Linked DNA regions of Homo sapiens: region 1 is linked to region 2. Evidence: promoter capture Hi-C in human tissues and cell types (Jung and others, 2019). All regions are on one chromosome and are shown on one strand. The core of a region is centred on a gene start or on the middle of the fragment in contact, and the rest is flanking DNA. Distances in the headings are between cores, read along the strand shown.

Region 1 (3,555 bases), core at 312-2,811, 240 kb after region 2:
CCTGTCCCTACTAAACATATAAAAATTAGCCGGGTGTAGTGGTTGGCGCCTGTAATTCCAGCTACTCAGGAGGCTGAGACAGGAGAATCGCTTGAACCGGGGAGGCAGAGGTTGCAGTGAGCCGAGATTGCACCACTGCACTACAGCCTGTCCAAAAAAAAAAAAAAAAAGAGTCGAAACAAGGAAAGGAGGACACCTCAAAAGAAGAACAGCAGCAGAGATGTGAGACTGATCCAGTAGGTAATTATACGAAGGATGATGGGATCCAGGATTCTCACCGTTAAAGACTGGATTCTTTAAATCAGGGTTTCTCAACCTCAGTGCTACTGAAATTTAGGTCTGATAATTCTCATGTGTGTGTGGGGTAAGTGGCACCTGTGCATTTAAAAATGTTTACCAGCAATTCCTATAGTGTAGACTCCGCTAGAATTCCAGGAGCATTCCCTGAGTTGTGACAGTCAAAAATGTCTCAAGGCACTGTCAAATAGCCATATTGGATACCTTCAGTTTGAGAATCACTGCTCTAAGGCCGGGCGCGGTGGCTCACGCCTGTAATCCCAGCACTTTGGGAGGCCGAGGTGGGTGGATCACCTGAGGTCAGGAGTTCAAGACCAGCCTGACCAACATGGTGAAACCTCATCTCTACTAATACAAAAATTAGCCAGGCGTGGTGGCACGTGCCTGTAATCCCAGCTACTAGGAAGGCTGAGGCAGGAGAATCACTTGAACCGGGAGGCGGAGGTTGCAGTGAGCAGAGATTGCACCACTGCACACCAGCCTGGGCGACAAGAGGGAAACTCCATCTTCAAAAAAAAAAAAGAGAATCACTGCTCTAAATAAATATATAGAATACACACACACACACACACACACACACACACACACACACACACTCTCTCTCTCTCTCTCTCTCTCTCTCCCCGCACCCCGCCCGCCCGCACTGGGAAGACTGGGGAGCAGTGACACCCTGTTAGCAATGAACCCACCTAGTGCTCAAGCCATTTCAACATACTATCCTCTACCAAAAGGAATGAGGTCACCTTAGAGAAATGGCTGATTCTAGGGCTAGGGGAGGGAGAATTTAAGAAGTGCTGAAATGATGGGGATATGTCAAAAGGACACAGAAGTCAGCGGGAATGGGTTCCCACTGGTCAAAATAAGTAATCAGAATAATGGATTATAGCTCATGGAGTAAAACAGGAAATCATGAACCCATACTGATATAACTAACTAAATAAATAAATTGTTTGATGAGAAACAGGATATTTACATAGTTTCAAAGACTCTCCCCACTAAATATTTACTAATAACAAAAGTGGAAAGATTATGGTAGAAAAGGCTAATGGACACCACTTAATCCAGTGATCAAAGTAAACATGATCAGTAATGAAATACGTCAAAACTGTGTTCCACCTGACAGGCTGCAATGAGAATGCAGCATCTCATCTGTGATTTTCCTGCCCAAGAGGCAAAGCCTGAATCTAATTATGAGGAGACATCTGATAAACTCCAACCCCAAAGAGGAGGACATTCCACACAATAGGTGGCCTGTGATCTTCAAAAGCTCATGATCACGAAAGTAAAGACTGATAACTGTTAAAGACTAGAGGTGATTAAAAGACATGACAACAAACTGCTACACGTTCATTCTTTTTCTTTTTCTTTTCTTTTTTTAAGAGACAGAGTCTTACCCTATTGCCCAAACTGGAATGCAGAGGTGCAACCTTGGCTCCCTATGACTTCGACCTCCTGGGCTCGAGTGATCCTCCTGCCTCAGCCTCCCAAGTAGCTGAGACTATAGGTGTGTGCCACCATGCCTGGTTAATTTTTCTATTTTTTTGTAGATAGAGTCTTGCTATGTTTCCCAGGCTGGTCTCGAACTCCTGGGTTCAAGCAACCCTCCTACTTGGTCTCCCAAAGTGCTGGGATTACAGATTCAAGGCACTGTGCCTGGCCTATACATTAATTCTGATCCTCCTGCCATAAAAGACACTTTTGGAGCAAACTAGTGAAACTTGAGTAGGGAGTAAGCATTAGATGGCAGCAATGTACTGATGTTAATTTCTCTGACTTTGATGACTGCTGTCTGGTTACACAGGAGAATCTCCTTGTTTGTAGAAAACACACACTAACATATTTAGAAGTAATATGGCATGAACTTGGCAACTTTCAGGCATAAAATTATTTGTATAGTACTTTTAACTTTTACATAAGTTTGTAATTATTTCTAAATTTGAGAGGATATGGAGCAAATAAAGCTTTCATGTGCTGCCGTGGGAGTGTGAACCGGTACAAACATTGCAGAAACTGTTTGGCAGGGAGTGTGAACTGGTACAAACAACGGCAGAAACTGTTTGGCAGGCCAAGTTTGGCCTGCATTCAGATGCTCATCAAAAGCCACAGACAGGTGTGCTCATAGTATTGTCTGGAGTAATTTCCAGTTTAGAAACACTTAACAATAGTAACGTGAACTTTAAAATTATGGCATATTCATATAATGGAATTCTGGATAACAGTGAAAATGAATAAAGGAAACTAATCACAATAACATGGATGCATCTCACAAACATAATGTTGAGCAGAAGAAGCCAGACACAGGCCGGGCGCAGCGGCTCACGCCTGTCATTCCAGCACTTTGGGAGGCCGAGGTGGGTGGATCACTGGAGGCCAGGAGTTCAAGACCAGCCTGGCCAACATGGTGAAACCCCGGCTCTACTCAAAATATAAAAATTAGCTGGGTGTGGTGGCACATTCCTGTAGTCCCAGCTACTTGGGAGGCTGAGGCACGAGAAATCACTTGAACCCGGGAGGCAGAGGCTGCAGTGAGCCGAGATTGCTCCACTGCACTCCAGCCTGGGCAACAGAGCAAGACTCTGTCTCAAAAAACAAACAAACAAACAAACAAACAAACAAAAAACCACCACCACCAGGCAAGAGGAATGCAGCGACTTACTCCAGCTATACAAAGTTTCAAAACAAGCAAAACTAACCTATGGTGACAGAGGTCTTTTTATTACTGGGTTGTAAGAGTTCTTTATATATTCCTTATAGGACTCTATCTAGGCAGTTTTTACACTAAAATCAAACTAATAATTTGCCCTCCAAAGTGCCTGCTAAAAAAAAAAGATTATTAGGGGAAAATAACCTCAGTGGTGATTTTAAAAAGTCAACTTAATGAAATCTCTCAGAACAAGAGATAAACATGAAAAATACAACCAAACTGAAGAAAAGATGGAGGGTAGATTCAAGGGGTCCATCCTGGCCAGGCGCAGTGGCTCACGCCTGTAATCCCAGCACTTTGGGAGGCTGAGGTGGGCAGACTGCTTGAGATCGGCAGTTCTAGACCAGCCTGTCCAACACAGTGAAACCCCATCTCTACTAAAAAAACACAAAAATCAGCTGGGCATGGTGGCATGCGCCTGTAATCCCAGCTACTCGGGGGGCTGAGGCACAAGGATCGCTTGAACCCAGGAGGTGGAGGTTGCAGTGAGCTGAAATCGCACCACTGAACTCCAGCCTGGGGGACAGAGTGAGACACCATCTCAAACAAACAAA
Region 2 (3,890 bases), core at 262-2,761:
GGTAATGGGAGATCAAAGCCACAAGCCATAAAAAGAGTGAGACTCTCTCCACACCCCACATGTAACTAAAAACAGAGAAGTCTAAATTGTAAAATAAAAGGAAGTTCAACAAACTGTTGACCTTTCCATGGTGACTATTCTGATGTTTTTGAAATATAAAATATTAGGCCGGGCAAGGTGGCTCATGCCTGTAGTCCCAACACTTTGGGAGGCCGAGGCAGGTCGATCACCTGAGGGCAGGAGACCAGCCTGACCAATATGGTGAGACCCTGTCTCTACTAAAAATACAAAAATTAGCCAGGCGTGGTGGCAGGCGCCTGTAATCCCAGCTACTCGGGAGGCTGAGGCAGGAGAACTGCTTGAACCTGGGAGGCAGAAGTTATGGTGAGCCAAGATCCAGCCTGGGCTCCAGCCTGGGCAGCAGAGCAAGACTCTGTCTCAAAAAATAAAATAAAATAAAATGAAATATAAAATATTAAAATCTGTCCAAAAACGTGTTCCTTGCTGGTACCCTACACATTGTGGCCTGCTTCCTGGGTGATCTGGCCCCAGGTGGGATGCTAATCCCAAGTCCCCTCCCAGCACAGCCTCAGCCCATCTTTCAGGGAGAACTCAGCTACCAGGAGCCTTTCATCCACATAAGCTTGATGCCCATCCAATTCTCCGGCCAACCTCCTGAGCAGGGGCAGGAGACCCATGGGAAGTCTGCTCAGATCACTAGGCAGGACCACCCTGGCCTCCGGCTTAATCTTAGCAGCCTCCAGGGGCTCACCTGACCGTGCTGTCTCATCACAGGGGGCCCCCGAAAGGACTCATGGCTTGGCTTGCCCAGAGGCTTCCATGGGACAGTTAAAGGCTAAAATGGGACCCCCCAGGCAGCAGAAGTGCCTCCCCCCACCCCACATTCCAGTTTTTACCCTGGGCCTGACAACACAGGAAGCAGGCTCCCTGCCAACACTCACACCCTCTACCATACAGACACTTGCCCCCAGTCTCTGGTCAACACTCTCTCACAGGGTCCTCACCCTCATCAGCCCAACCCCTGCTCTGTAACAGAAGGGAGCTCTGCCAGGCGGAGCCTCCACACTCAGAGAACAAACTACAGAGTCAAGGACCTGCCCCAAGTGGGTGCCATGGGGAGAGGGCCTCGGTGGCGGGGGGAGGCTGGCTGGAGGAGGAACAGAATGGCAGAGCCCTGGAGTCCAAAGGCCCTGGCTGACAGAACTGGCAACACGAAGCCTCAGCCGCCCTTCCCAACAAGCCTGGGGCCCTGACCCACCGAGCAAGACTCCTTTCCTGGAGGAGCTGCCACTCTCTAACCTCTGGCTCTAACTGAGCCCCATCAGAGACAGACAGTCAAGGCTGTAGTCTGCAGACACCTGGCTGGAGCTGAGGGCACAGCAGCCCCTCGAAGCAGCGGGTGAGAGGACTTACTGGCTATGCAGAGCAGAGTGTGGAAGAGCCACATCCTTGCTGGAGCAGAGGCGGCTGTGTGGGAGCCGAGGCGAGTGCGACACATGGGCCGTGGCCCACTCAGCTTCCCCTCAGCCAGGAGGCCAGGAGGCGGGGACAGAAGCACACACACCAGCAAGGACCCACAGACCGGCACTTTCAACCAAACAGAGACACTCCGGCTCGTACACAACCAGCCGTGTGGCTTCCTCAGTTGTGGGCTGGACCCTAGGAGCTTAGGGGCCACTGTCAGCCCCACTCTACCACCCACACTTTGACCCACACTTTCATGGAATAGGGAGCTGAGGTTTGGCCAGGGCCACAGTTCTAGGTGTCCTCAGCAGATGCTGGAGGTGCAGGAGCAACGTGAATCCAGCCTGCCGTTCGTATCATCCATTTGAGTCGGTCCCCTGTCCTGCCTCAGAACCTACCACCAGACATCTCAGCCCAGCTTCCAGCCCAGGGTCCTCGGTGGTGGTTGCCTCAGCACTGAGACAGGCGTCCCCCTCCCATAGGAAGTGCCTCCCCAGCCAAAAACTGGGCTCTTGTACCAGCCCATGCACTCAAGGCCCTGGGGTTCTGGAGGGCCAGGTGAGTGGAAAGACCCAACGCACTGAGTGAAATCACTGCCTCGATTCAACTTCGGCTGCGTTCATTCTCTTTAAAACCAGGACAGCAACCTGACGTGGAAACTGACTGAACAGGACTCTGAGTTACCAGAATAACAGAAGTAAAATTCTATACATCTTCCAGCATACCTGTGATGCATCCCAGCATTCCACAGAACACGCCGTTGACAGCTGGCAGTCGTGTTTAAGTGCTGATCTGAGATCTGTACTGTGTGACCAAGTCTGTGACACAGAAGGAACTCTCCTGCACCCCTGCTCCCCAGGCTGCTGGAAGTGCAGAGTGGCGCCGTCAAACAGAACTCTGCGCGGGGATGGAACTGCTCTAGGTCGACGCTGTCCAGGATGGTACTCATGAGCCACATATGGTACTAAACCCTTAAAATGCCACTAGAACAACTGATGAACTGAATTTTGTATATTTTATTTAATTTTAATTAAACGTAAAAAGGCAGGACATTCCAAGGCTCTCTAACACGAGTGTCTGCAGCCCCATTCGCTTTGAGATGTGAATGTGTTAACCCAGGGTGGACAATGGTGTTGACTTCATTACTAGATAAAAATCCATGTTATTTTGTTTCTCGCATTGAAAGGCTGCTTGGCTAAGGTTCTGTGAAGATCCGATGACATTTCCAACACTTTGCCTTGTCTGCTTTGCTCTGACAAAGTGCTTATGACTACTAGATCTTGCTCGGTTATGTGAGATTACAATTCACCGGTTTCCATCCTGTATGAAACAGAAGTTAAACAGTTGTAAAAGCAAAATTCCAGGTCTGGTGGTTTTCCTGCCAGGTCATGATGAAACCATCCTACTTCTGTTGAACCTCGTCCCAGGCAGGATCGGGGCCTGCGGCCTACAGCCTGTCTTCCCAGCGCTCCAGGGCTCGTGACCCTCCTCCTCCCCTCACTTCATTCTGCGCTCCAAGGGCACTGGGGAGAGTCACAGTGGTCTCCTCTCCCCCGCATTGGCCTAAAGCAGGAAGAGAGCAGCCCAGTCACTGAGCAGATCCCTGCTAGGGCAGGGCTAGAACCCAGACTGCAGCTCACTCGAGATTCCTGAGAGAAGACTTTGTGTTTGGAGTGTGAACGTCAGGGTGCCTCGGGAAGCCAGGGAAAGCTGATGACTGGGTGCTGGACAGGGAGCAGGGCCACTTCTGTACCTCTGCACACTTCTAGAATGCGGACTCATCCTGCATCCATCCAGTATGTATTTATCCAAGCGTCAGTGCCTCTAGTCATGAGACACACAGGGGTCCGTAAAGCCCACCTGGCGGTAGCTGCTTTCCCCACAAACCCAAACTACATCCCCAAGGTCAGGGCCAGGCTCTGTTGAGTAATGCTCCCCATCACAGCACGCAGCACAAGGCTGGCTGTTTGACAAATACACACATAACCAAAAGACATGTGAATGTGGTTTCCCAACTCACTTTAAACAAATATTCCGGGACCAACTTCAAGGACGTTCTACAACAGAAACTGGACTGTACTCTTCACAAACATCAATGTCATGAAAGACAGAAAGGCTGAGGACCTGCTCCAAACGAAAGGAGGCTGCAGAGAGGACAACTAAAGGCAGCGCTTGATCCTGGATTGGATCCTGGACCAGAAAAACAACGGCTTTCAAAATCATTATTGGGACAGTTGGCAAATTTGAAACAGGAACTACAAATTAGCAACTCCTGGGCTGATCAGAGAATATTACACATTTCCTGAATTTGAGAACTGTACCATGGGCATGTGAGAGGCTGTCCCTGTTCTTGGGAAATGTTCACTAAAACATCTTACGGATAAACGAGCATGATGTATACAAAT

The links. Contacts are between HindIII fragments. The study calls those that stand out against the background at their distance.
Region 1: a contact is called between a fragment that was not itself captured here and the fragment with the promoter of ITGAE in region 2, in 3 of the 25 tissues and cell types used here (mesendoderm cells, small bowel and thymus).

The regions. Positions count from the first base shown.
Region 1 is chr17:4,035,926-4,039,480 of GRCh38, forward strand. All of the region lies in intron 39 of ZZEF1 (zinc finger ZZ-type and EF-hand domain containing 1), which reads right to left. Among named protein-coding and RNA genes, the nearest start is that of LINC01975, 61 kb to the left of the region's middle. The HindIII fragment of the contact is 7,006 bases long and covers 1-3,555 here.
Region 2 is chr17:3,799,677-3,803,566 of GRCh38, forward strand. It overlaps ITGAE (integrin subunit alpha E), which reads right to left and starts at 1,512. Exons shown (of 31, transcript NM_002208.5): 1 at 1,435-1,512. The coding sequence starts at 1,468. NCBP3 (nuclear cap binding subunit 3) reads right to left here. Exons shown (of 13, transcript NM_001114118.3): 13 at 2,482-3,890. The HindIII fragment of the contact is 9,203 bases long and covers 1-3,890 here.